Regions from separate parts of the Homo sapiens genome. Here region 1 is linked to region 2. The links are contacts of gene promoters, found by promoter capture Hi-C in human tissues and cell types (Jung and others, 2019). All regions are on one chromosome and are shown on one strand. Each heading gives the region's core, a stretch centred on a gene start or on the middle of the fragment in contact. The rest is flanking DNA. Distances are from core to core; before and after follow the strand shown.

Region 1 (5,667 bases), core at 2,242-4,741, 49 kb after region 2:
GTCTTAGCATTCAAAGTATCTGTAGGTGTTACCCCAACCCAATCCCCAGAAACTGGAAACATTCCACTTGGTGCCATCCTGAAGTGTCTGTAACAAAAATTCTACACACTTGAGTCTTTTTCATCTGTTTTATTAGCATCAATATATACAAAGTGGAAAATGACTTAATTTCATTATTCTAGCTTAGAAAGTTTGTTTTGCTTTTTATTTTGTTTGGCGATAAAATGGAAATGAAAATTTCCCAGGAGAATGCCTACCTTTGGGGGTGCTGAACAACTCAAATAATATCTGACCTCAAATGACTCGTCATGCCTAGTCAAGGACATAGGAAGATCATGCCCTTCGGATTCACTCGAAGGGCATTTTTGCCTGAGGCCCGTGCCTCAGCCTAAAGCTACCCACATATTTGCCAAATCACTACTTGTTATACAACCCTCCTGATTATGCAGATGCTTTGCTTCCTTCTGGGCTGTTTGGCAGTCTTCAAAGCTATCAGCCTGAGGTTCTGTAGGCTCTCCAAGGGGTGAGCTTCAAAGGATCATAGTTAAAGCACATCTATGAAACTAAGTAAGAATGGCCATCAGGTAGCAATCAGAATACTTATGTTAGCTAAATAATTCTACAAAAAAAAAAAAAAAAAAGCAAAAAGCTGAGCTCCAAGCTAAAGAGGGTTGAGTGTGTGCATTTTTAAAGCACAGGGTGGTAGCTGACAGATACAGCTTATATGAATTAGCATGTAATACACACCATCACATGCATTCTCTGAAGCTCACAATCTCTGTAAACGTATTTCCCCACTGTTTTAAAAACAAAGAGTGGCTTGTAGGAAGGCTCAGTCCATTCTCGAGTTTCTCAAGAGTGTATCCTATTCAAAAATATTTAATCCCAATGGGTTTTAATATTGATCTTATAAAAACAGACGTACATGAGCTGTAATGAGATGCCTTGCACATTTTTGGCACTATTTTTTTTTACCTTTACGTATTACAAATACACATTCAGATATTTTAAAAAGAAAAATAGACACCAACCTGTCTTTTCAATCACACTGTACATTGTTGAACTCGTATGATCTGTCTCTAGGCTAAAACAAACTTTTAAAACACGGTTACGGGTGTGGTACTACTAAGACAGAACTGAGACACTGGTCTTCTGAAAAAAACAACAATGACAACAACAACAAAAAAACAAAAAACACAACGCCTTTTCTATCTTTCCAATAGTCAATAAGAACATCTGGGGTGTGGCCTGGCTAGTTTTGGGGATAGGGTTAGAATAAAGATTTATATTTTGTCAGTCTTTATAAAAGGCAAATGTTTAGTTTTCACATAACCATAACACGTTGTAAAATCAAATATTATTCATAGAGTTCTTCATTCCAGGTGACCCAGGGTTAGGGTTAGAATAAGCATCAAATAAAATGGATTGAGTTCTGCCTTTTAAGGAAAGGTTACATTATTTGTGTTGTTATCTTTCTCCAAACATGACATTGTCCACTAATGGCCTAGAACACTTCTCTGGTTCTTGCATTAAATGGGGCTTTGGGTCCTGGAAAGCAGCCTTTAGCTATTTCTTGCCATGGACCACACACTCATGCCTTCAGGAGTATATGTGCAAGATTCTTTTCTGGCAGAAGGAAAATATTCTGGTCTTAGACCCCCAAGATTGAAGTCTGAGTTCCTGCTGTCAAGGAGGGTACATGTGTGCCTAAAATCAACTTTCCCTATCTTGCTTAAGATGTTTCCAATGTAACCACCAAAACATAGACTCCCTGCTATTCTCCCTATGGCCAGAAAGGTCTTTTCTTGTTTGAAAACCAGCAGACTTGAAACAATTCCAGAGAGAATGGGAGGGCACCAAAGAGGGTTCCAAATGCCACTGTGCCCGTCTGTCTGTCCAAGCCATTGACTGTCACCACCATGTCACCGGTCCCAGGAAGGTGAATCTGCTTCACACATAGTATTTCTTCCATGCACCCGCACCCTCCACCTTCTCTTTATACCTGTATTTAGAAAAGAATCTTCCCAAGAGTTACACACTCACCGGTTTCACTGGGTTGGGGGAAAACAGACCCTGATAAAATAAGAGGAATGCCCGTGTGACTAGATGTGGGGCTATGGAATCCTTTCTGAATGAAATTCCTCTCTCTGTCTTCATTGATGTTCAGATCAGATGATACAGGATTCCACTGGATGGTCTGCTGTGATTTAAAATCCCCTGCCCCTGTTCTCTGCACCTCCTCAGTCAGCATTCACACCACCCTCCAACATCCAGACAGCTTTGGAGAATAGAAAAATAGTTTCTTCTCATGGGACCCTCCCGCCCCCTGAAATACTTGATGGCAAGTATATTCTGAAGATGACACCTTTTAGAGAATCAGTGCACTTGAGTCTCCTCTATTTTGAGGGCTGAGATATTCCAGAACCCCAGGAGAAACCAGAGCTCACCCCTGCATTTCCAAACATGGCACCTCCTTTTTCCCATCACAAATCCTTGTCACTGTATGAGTGGGGCCGCTGGTGCCTCCCAAGCCTGTGTGTTTATTACCACAGCTTGAGAGTGGCTTGCTGAACATGGTGATCGATTCTGGCACTTGTAGCATAAATTACACGCTCTTTCATCATTGAAAGAGTGTCAAAGAAAAGAACATTTTAACCCAATTCCCTTACCCAATGATCCCCCTCACCCAATTCTTCATTGGAACTCTCAAATCTCTCATTTGTCTCTGAAAAATTGCCTTTGGTCGTTTATCACCTTTCTAGAAAGAAAACGTTTTCTTGTTTTGTCACTGTCCAGCGAGGCCAGAGTGGTAAAAGACAATGTTTATATAACACCTTTGCTACCTTCAGAAGAACCGTGAGAGGGAGGGGCTGTGGAAAAACCTTTCAGAAGCTGGCAAAATGGGAAGAGAGGACACAGAATTTGTTTAGGAGCACAGCTCTCCAAATGGGTTTAAGTACCCATGCTAAATTCCAACCCAAACTAAGCCAACAAGAAATACCCTTTCCAACCTAATCTTGGGACTTAGATTTGTACTGAAAACATCATGGGCATGGTTCCCAAAGATGCATGCAATTCAATGCAGCCTTAGCATGGCATTGCTGATGGGAGAAACTCCATCTGCTGTTTTGTGTTTTTGCTGCCGCGGTTTGCCATTTTGCAAGTCTTCCACCTGCCTTCAGAATTGAGGCTGTAACATGAATTTGGCTGAGGCCGCGAAACATCCAAACCCACACCTATTTCACTTTTAAATATAATAAATACAGGGAAGAAAACAGTAAACCTTTGATAAAGAGTCTAAACAAAAGACAGTCGACATTCTGGGGTTTCAATCAAGTGCCACATGGTCTCTGGATGAATGTCTCGAGGAGATTGTGGTTGAGTTCACAAGTCCCCTTCTCAAGTGTAGCTCTCTTTAGATAGAAACCTCATACTCTCTGGTTTCCTGCAAGAGAGAGAAGCACGGATTTGTCAAACGCTTGTGTGGTAGAGTGATATACATAGGGGGATGCAGTTCTTTGCACCTCTGTATGTCCATGCCCTTGGTCGTGACTTTTCAGTGCCCTCCCACTCTGACCCTGATTTGCTTTTGCCAATGGGTTATAAGGAAATGGCGTACAACAGCTGCTTGAAACATGCTTGTGTGTTTCTGCTCACATCCTGTCTATCTGTCATCACCAAGAACAGGGCATGCCCTGGTAGGCTTTAGTCTCTTCAGGAAAATGAAGGACACACAGAGCAGAGCTGAGTCACCCATCCATCAACCAGCCAATGCCAGGATTACCATCCAGCTGAAATAAGCCTAAAACGCTGTCCCACAGACTGATGAGCAAATGAATGCTTGTTGCATTAAGCCATTGAGTTCAGAGATCTTTGTTACTCAGCATTACTATAGTTCTAGGTCACTGATACACTCTACTAATAAGTATTCATTCATGTCTAGTCTCTAAAATTCTCCTTTATTTCAGTCTGACCTTTTCCCATGATTTCAAAGCAAGCTACATAGAATGCAAAATAACATATGCCCTGATCTACCATTGCCATGTGAAACGACTACAACATGGGGGGTAGTTTGATTTCTTCAATATTTATGGAGTGTGAGTAATGTATTCCAAGCTCCAGGGACAAGGAGCAAGGAGATAGAAGAAGGCTCAGCCCTGGAAGTTGACACTGTCACATGCTTTAATGAAAGTCTCCAGCTCCCATTCAGCCAACACAGATATGCAATCACATCTATGCTTCATGGTACATGGGATTTTGGTGGGCAGGCCCCAAGGTGGTCCCCATGATCCCCACCTTCTGGGGCTCATGCCTTTGTGGGGTCCCCTCCTTTTAAGGGTGGGTAAAGCCTGTGACTTGATTCTAACTAGGAGAATACACAGGTGCTAGGATGTCACTTCCATGTTTGCATGACACAGGATTGTGACTTCTGTCTTGCAAGATGACTCTCTCTCTGTTGCTGGCTCTGAAGAAGCCAGCTGCCATGTCATGAGCTGCTCTATAGAGAGGCCCACATGGAAGAAACTGCGGGTGGCCCCTAGAAGACAGCCCGCAAGAAATTGAGGCCCTCATTCTAACAACCTGCAAGGAACTGAATGCTGTCAACAACCATGTGAGTTTGGAAGTGGATCCTTCCCTGGTTGAGCCTCAGATGAGACTGCAGCCCAGTTGCTGCCTTGTTTGTAGCCTGTGAGCCATAAAGCAGGGGGTCAGGCTAAGCTGTGCCTGGCTTCCTGACTTATAGAAACTATGAGATAATAAATGTATGTTGTTAATTTAGGCCCCTAAGTTTGCAGTAATATTGTTACACATCAGTGGATAACTAACACAGGAGATCAGAGAAGTGGAGGTGAAGGAAGGTTAGCAGGATAAGAAACAAGTCAGGTTTATTCCCCCCAAACGTTGGGAGATGGCTGCACATCATTACACAGTGAACTTGAAGGATGGTGGTTTTGCAAACTCATAACCAGCCTTTTGCTTCCTCGCATGTGCCCTGGACCTTTGCACATGCTCTCCCTTCTGTCTGGCATCTTCTTCAGCCCATTGTCCAAGCTCTACCCACTTCCCATGTCTCAGCTTTACTCTCACTTTCTCAATGATGCCTTCCCCAACTCCCTCTAAGTGTCCCCATTATACATTCTCCTAGTGCCCTGTTCAATTTTTTCATAGTCCTTAAAAAGTATTATTTGTTGTAATCAAAATATTCATGGGCACATTGGATTGTCAGAGGTTCGAGGGAAGCAAGATAGCATCATGATTAAGAGTGTCAGGTTGAATTTGCATCCTGGCTTCAGGCTGTGCATCCTGGCTGTGTGCCACTTTGGCCAAATTATTCTTTCCTCTCTCTGGACCTCAATGTCCTCATCAATCAATTAGAGATAACTGTGGAACCTATTGCAGAGAGCTGCAAGGATTCAAGGAGATTATGCATTTAAAGTGCCCAGCAGATGGCATGTATTATTATTGATAATAATAATTCACAAGACGGTAGGCTCATTAATGGTGGAATCTGTGTCTATTGGGGTTCATGACTATGTTCCTAGCACCTAAAATAGGACCTGATACTCAAATGTGTAGGGATGTTTCACACTGCCATTGAATAAAGGGTGGAGCCCAGTGGGATGTGTGGGAATGCAGCACGTTGCCACCAGGCCACCGTTGGTCTGC
Region 2 (6,106 bases), core at 148-2,647:
ACTGGCAGTTTATTAAGCACTGCTTCAAACATTTGATCCTCACAGCTACCTAGTGACAACTCCCCATCTACCCAGTGGGGAGAGGAGAGACTCTCTCCCCCGACAGCTCCTTGCCCAGTGACCACAGTAGCTTCCAGCTTCCTTCGCACATCTGTTCATTGTCATCTGTGTTATTTCTGTCCTCATCAGGGATGGGGACATCTCATTGCAGCTCTGCACTTTAATAATAAGCAACCCCAGATCTTCCAGCTCAGTTGGCTCTGGGGAATTGAGTCCAAATCCATGGCCAGTTGGAGAGCAAGTCCAATCCAAGACAACTTCTCACACCATGAACACCTGGGAGAGCCGGTGTCAGGCCTGACCTGGTCAGCCTAGTTCAGATGTCCATTCCCAGAGGCTGCCTAATGCCAAAGAGTGTCTGCTCACCCTCAGGATGAGGCCAAGTCACCCTGGAAGCCCCCCAGTGAGCAGCACTGGGCAAGGTGTGTGATGCCTGTCACCCTCTCCACTCAGGAGCCAGAGAGATGCCGTGGGGCCAGCCCTTCCCGGTGCAGACCTGGGGACCTTCCCTCTCTTGGCCAGCTTCTCAGCACCCACCTGCCCTGGAGAGTGGGAAAGAGGGGAGGGCTGAAGATGGGTTAGCACAGATGGTGACCACCAGGAGGTCAGGGGAGGAGGGGGATGGGACGATGGAAAGGTGAGTGTTGCCCGGAAAAGTGGACGATCAGCTCAAGATTGTGGAAGGAGGTTTATGGCGCCTCATAATTCGTGGGACAGGGGAGGAGGGTCACCACGTGAAATATGGGAAGTGGGTGATGCTGAGGGCTGGGGGAGGGGACAGGAGGTGAGGAAAGAGGGGTCACAGGGGAGAAGGGAGATGGAGGAAGGGACCACGATGGGGCAGGGAAGAGGAGTAGGAGGAGGTCTAGGGAGGGTGATGCCCGGCTCCGAGGCGGCGGCGCTTAGCACGTACGAGCACTGGCCTCGGCCGGGCCGGGATGCGGGCGCCCGGGTCCCGGAGCATCCTCGGCGGGGGCGGCGGCGGCGGCGGCGCCGGTAAGGGAGGGCCGTGGGCCTGCAGCTGCCGGGCTCCCGCCTCCAACCCCTGTCCTGGGGTCGGCCCAGCCGCGCCGCCCTCCCGCCCCGGCAGCCCCCGGAGACGAAGCTTACCTGCGCCCGGGCGCGCGGACGGCTGCCGGGACCCAGGAGACGCCGCCGCCCGAGGGCGCGGACCCGCGGACGGCCCCTGCCCGGCGCCGCGGAGCCGCCGCCTGGCTGCTGCCCAGCCCACGCCGCGGGAGCCCGAGCCGGAGCCCGAGCCCGAGCCTAAGCCGCGCCGGTGCCCCTGCCGGTGCCGACGCCGCGCTGCGCTCCGCGGGGCCGCGAAGACCACAACTCCCACAATGCCGCGCGCGCTGGGCCGCCGGGGGAGGGGGTACGGGGGGGCGGGGCCTGCGGGGCGGGGCCGGGGACCCCCCTGCACCCGGCACCTGCGCTCGCAGTGCGGGAGGCGACCCGAGGCCGCGCCCGCCGCCGCTCCGGAGGGTCCTGGCAGTGCGCCCCGAGACGCAGCGCCCGCCCAGCCCGAGGTTGCGCGCAGGCGGCGACGGGCGTGCAGTCATTCATTAAGAAAGGCTCGCGTCGCTTCCTTCGCTCTTTCGTTTTTCGCTCTGTGTCTTTCTCAGTTCTCCCTCCCTCTGTCTCTCTGTTCCTCTCTGAGTCGCCCTCGTCTCCATTTCCTCCTTTTCATTCTCTTTCACTTCCCCCCCACCTCACTTCCTCTCGCCCTAACGCCTTCTTTCCTTTATTGATGGACTCAACACGGACTTCTGAGGCCCTCAGGCACTTGGAATGGAACCGCAAATCAAACCAGATTCTTAGTCTCATGGAAAACTCATTCGCTCAGTACAGTAATGATGGGCCAGCCTGGGTCCCCGTCCCTGCCAGCTGCGCTGAGCGTGCGCGGTGAGCGCTCAGGCCCGCCCTGCCCTCAGTGAGCCACCGTCTAGCGGGAGGGGACCCTCACCCCCGGGTAGGGTTTAGGAGGGGAAGTACAGGCAGGACGGTTGTCTGACCAGGGGACTGATGAGCTGCGAATGGAGGCCCCAAGGAGGCTGCTTGGAGGAGGTGACGTTTGAGCTAAGACCTGGGGGAGACTAACAGTGGCTACGGGATGTGTTAGGGGCGCCAGGGAAACTGCATGGGTGGGTTCTGGGAGCATAGAGTAGGATGGCCCGCCCACAATCCATCTGTCTCTGTCCCAGACCCACCTCTCTTGTGTCCCAGAATTTATCTCTAACATGGCCCAGAAGCCACCTCATGTCTGTCCCAGAATCCATTTCTCATCCCTATTCCAGAAGCCACCTTCACCCTGTTCCAGAACGTACCTCCTTCCTGTTCCAGAACCCACCTCCCTCCCTGTCCCAGGACCCACCTCCACCCTGTGCCAGAACTCACCTCCTTCCTGTTACAGAACCCACCTCCTCCCTCTTCCAGAACCCACCTCCTCCCTCTTCCAGAGCCCACCTCCTCCCTCTTCCAGAACCTACCTTCTTTCTGTCCCAGGACCCACTTCCACCCTGTCCCAGGACCCACCTCCTCCCTGTCCCAGGACCCACCTCCACCCTGTCCCAGAGCCCACCTCCTCCCTATTCCAGAAGCCACCTTCACCCTGTTCCAGAACATACCTCCTTCCTGTTCCAGAACCCACCTACTCCCTGTCCCAGGACCCACCTTCACCCTGTGCCAGAACCTACCTCCTTCCTGCTACAGAACCCACCTCCTCTCTCTTCTAGAACCCACCTCCTCCCTCTTCCAGAACCCACCTCCTCCCTCTTCCAGAACGCACCTCCTCCCTCTTCCAGAACGCACTTCCTCCCTGTCCCAGGACCCACCTCCTCCCTGTCCCAGGACCCACCTCCACCCTGTGCCAGAACCCACCTCCTCCCTGTTCCAGGACCCACCCCCTCTCTGTTCCAGAACTCACCTCCACCCTGTTCCAGAACTCACCTCCTCCCTGTCCCAGGACCCACCTCCTCCCTGTCCCAGGACCCACCTCCACCCTGTGCCAGAACCCACCTCCTCCCTGTTCCAGGACCCACCCCCTCTCTGTTCCAGAACTCACCTCCACCCTGTTCCAGAACTCACCTCCTCCCTGTCCCAGGACCCACCTCCTCCCTGTCCCAGGACCCACCTCCACCCTGTGCCAGAACCCACCTCCTCCCTGTTCCAGGACCCACCCCCTCTCTGTTCCAGAACTCACTTCCACCCTGTTCCAGAACTCACCTCCTCCCTGTTCCAAGACCCACCTCCACCCTGTCCCAGTACCCACCTCCTCCCTGTTCCAGAAGCCACCTTCACCCTGTTCCAGAATGTACCTCCTCCCTGTCCCAGAGCCCACCTCCACCATGTCCCAGAACCCACCTCTCATCTCTGTCCCAAAATCCACCTGGTCCCTGACCTAAGAATCTGCCTCTACTGTGATAGCCTAAAATCCACCTCCTCCCTGTTCCAGAACCCAGTTTGTCATGTCCCAGAACCCACTTCTTCCATGTCCCAGAGTACACCTCTCCCATGTCCCAGAATACACCTCTTCCATGTCTTAGACTCTTCTTCATCTCTGTCATTTCTCTCCTTTTCTCAACTCCAAAAGAGGAAGAATGTTTTTTCTCTTTTATTCTACTAAAATAAACCAAAACACTTGCATTGGGAAACCATAATATGCACAGATTTGCTCAAAGTGTGGATAATCAACACAGGCATCAGATTTAGAAACATTAAATGGGATGTCTGTCTTCACTGTCAGCCTAAGAGTGGTTGAGCCTGGGTGGGGTGGAGAAAATGGAGTGGGGGGTATTTGACTCATCTCACATTCAGAAAGTTGCTCAAACTTAGAATTCTCCAAAGGCAGTCATACATTCTATCACAGCATTATCCTGGCAGGTTTGAAAAAAAAAAGATATTTTTATATTGTAAATATGTGTTCCATTCCTGCACCATCTTATCTGTACTGTATTATGAATTAATATTGTCTATCAATCCTATAAGTGTCCTTGACCAGTGCAATTATATGATATCTGTAGACCACTGCTCTGCATTTGTTAGTATTTATTTGTTCAATGGCAATATTACTATACACGCAATTTTGTTAGCCCTGCTTACCATTTCTTCATCTTTTTAATTAGCTGGGAGTCTCAATAAATGGAAATGACCTGGGCCTCTGTCAACCCCTTGGAGACCCTACTAGGTGAATTCTGCAGAAAAGGATATCCATGCCTTTCAGAGGGGGATTTTGGGTGAGAGCTCCAGATAAATTGTTACTGTGCTCATGGAGAGGCGGAGAGGAGGACCAAGGGCATCTGAATTGCCTGCCTTCAGCTTGGCTGCCACCTGCATCCTCCTGCTCTCGCTGCCTTCTTTAGCGCAGTCATCCTACCCACTCCGAGACTACACAACCTATCATTACACCGTCTCATACACTCACGGGGTCCACTCAACTCCCTCCTCCTACAGATGGAAGCCCAGAGAGAAAACATGCCTTGCTCAATCAAGGTTGCAGCAAGTCAGTGGAAAATGTGCTTGCGGCCAGCCGTGGTGGCTCACATCTGTAATCCCAGCACTTTGGGAGGCCGAGGCCAGTGGATCACCTGAAGTCAGAAGTCCTAGACCATCCTGATCAACATGTTGAAACCCTGTCTCTACTAAAAGTACAAAAAGTTTTGTATTAATTTTTGTATTAATTAACTACAGGTGTGGTGGTGCACGCCTGTAGTCCCAGCTACTCTGGAGGCTGAGGCAGGAGAATTGCTTGAACCCAGGAGGCAGAGGTTGCAGTGAGCTGAGATTGCACTACTGCATTCCAGCCTGGGTAACAGAGCAAAACTCTCTGAAAGAAGAAAGAAAGAAAGAGAGAGGGAGGGAGGGAGAGAGGGAAGGAGGAAAGGAAGGAAGGAAAGAAAGAAGGGAGGGAGGGAGGGAGATGTGCTTGCTTGGTGCATTAAAGAAACTGGTATGATCACTTTGGAGAGCAGTTTGGTAGTATTCCTTAAAACAACAACAAATATGTATACACTGAAACCAACAATTTCGCTATGCTATATCTAACCTAGAGGGATTCTGGGATAGATGGAAGACTAGTTGTTTTTTCATATTACGTAATACTGTGAAGCTACTAAAAGCAGGAGCTAGATGTATATATAGCAACGTGGATAAAGCTCCTAGAAAAATAATAGGGTGAAAATTAAAAAAAAAGCAGAATTATGATTGTAGTATGATTTTATCTACATAACACGCACCTGTACACATGTGGGTATACACATGTATTTATATAAAAGCAGGGAAAGCACTAGAAGAACACACTAGTATGTTCTCCTATATAAAATGCAAAATAATTACGTTTGTAAATGCAGATAATATCCCTCAGAGGAAGCACACCAAATTCCTAAGAGTTGTAACTTCAGGGGGGACCAAGAAGGAACAAGGAATTGGGAGCAGTAGGCAAGGGAAACTCCAGCATTTTTTGTGATGTTTTAATTTAATATTTTCAAAGGTGTTTAAATACTCCGGAACAACATGCAGAAAGTTACTGGGACCGCGTCACTCTCCTATCCCTCAACCAGTTGGTTTTCTTTAGTGAAGACAGCCATTATAACAAATTTCTTATTCATCTTTTCAGGAATACGCTTTGCATTTGCAAATATTTGGAAATAGCTTAACTTTTAACTTTTAAAAAGTAAGTTTCACTTTTAACAAATAAGTATTAGTATGTTATTTGTGATATTAAAATGGTTTTTAAAGCCGGGCATGGTGGCTCACACCTGTAATCTCAGCTACTTGGGAGGCTGAGGTGGGAGGATTATTTGAGACCAGGATTTCAAGACCACCCTGGACAACATAATGAGAGCTTGTCTCAAAAAAATTTAAATAAAAGAAAAATTTTATTCACATTAAATATTATTTTTCAAGAATGTAGAATTGTTCAACATCAGAAAGTATTTTAATAGAATTCATTCTGTTAACAAAGTAAAGGAGAAGAATGACACCATGATCTCAACAGATGCAGAAAAAGCATTTGACAGAAGTCAAACATCCATTTATGATTAAAACT

What was found. The method cuts DNA at HindIII sites, captures the fragments that hold promoters and counts their contacts. A contact is called where the count stands out against the background at its distance.
Region 1: a fragment that was not itself captured here is called in contact with the fragment with the promoter of ASPHD2 in region 2 in 1 of the 25 tissues and cell types used here (H1 embryonic stem cells).

Annotation. Positions count from the first base shown.
Region 1 is chr22:26,378,044-26,383,710 of GRCh38, reverse strand. SEZ6L (seizure related 6 homolog like) reads right to left here. Exons shown (of 17, transcript NM_021115.5): 17 at 115-3,445. The coding sequence ends at 3,416. Among named protein-coding and RNA genes, the nearest start is that of ASPHD2, 48 kb to the left of the region's middle. The HindIII fragment of the contact is 9,503 bases long and covers 1-5,667 here.
Region 2 is chr22:26,424,551-26,430,656 of GRCh38, reverse strand. It overlaps ASPHD2 (aspartate beta-hydroxylase domain containing 2), which reads right to left and starts at 1,397. Exons shown (of 4, transcript NM_020437.5): 1 at 1,171-1,397. RefSeq lists silencers at 1,247-1,306, 1,427-1,556. The HindIII fragment of the contact is 9,826 bases long and covers 1-6,106 here.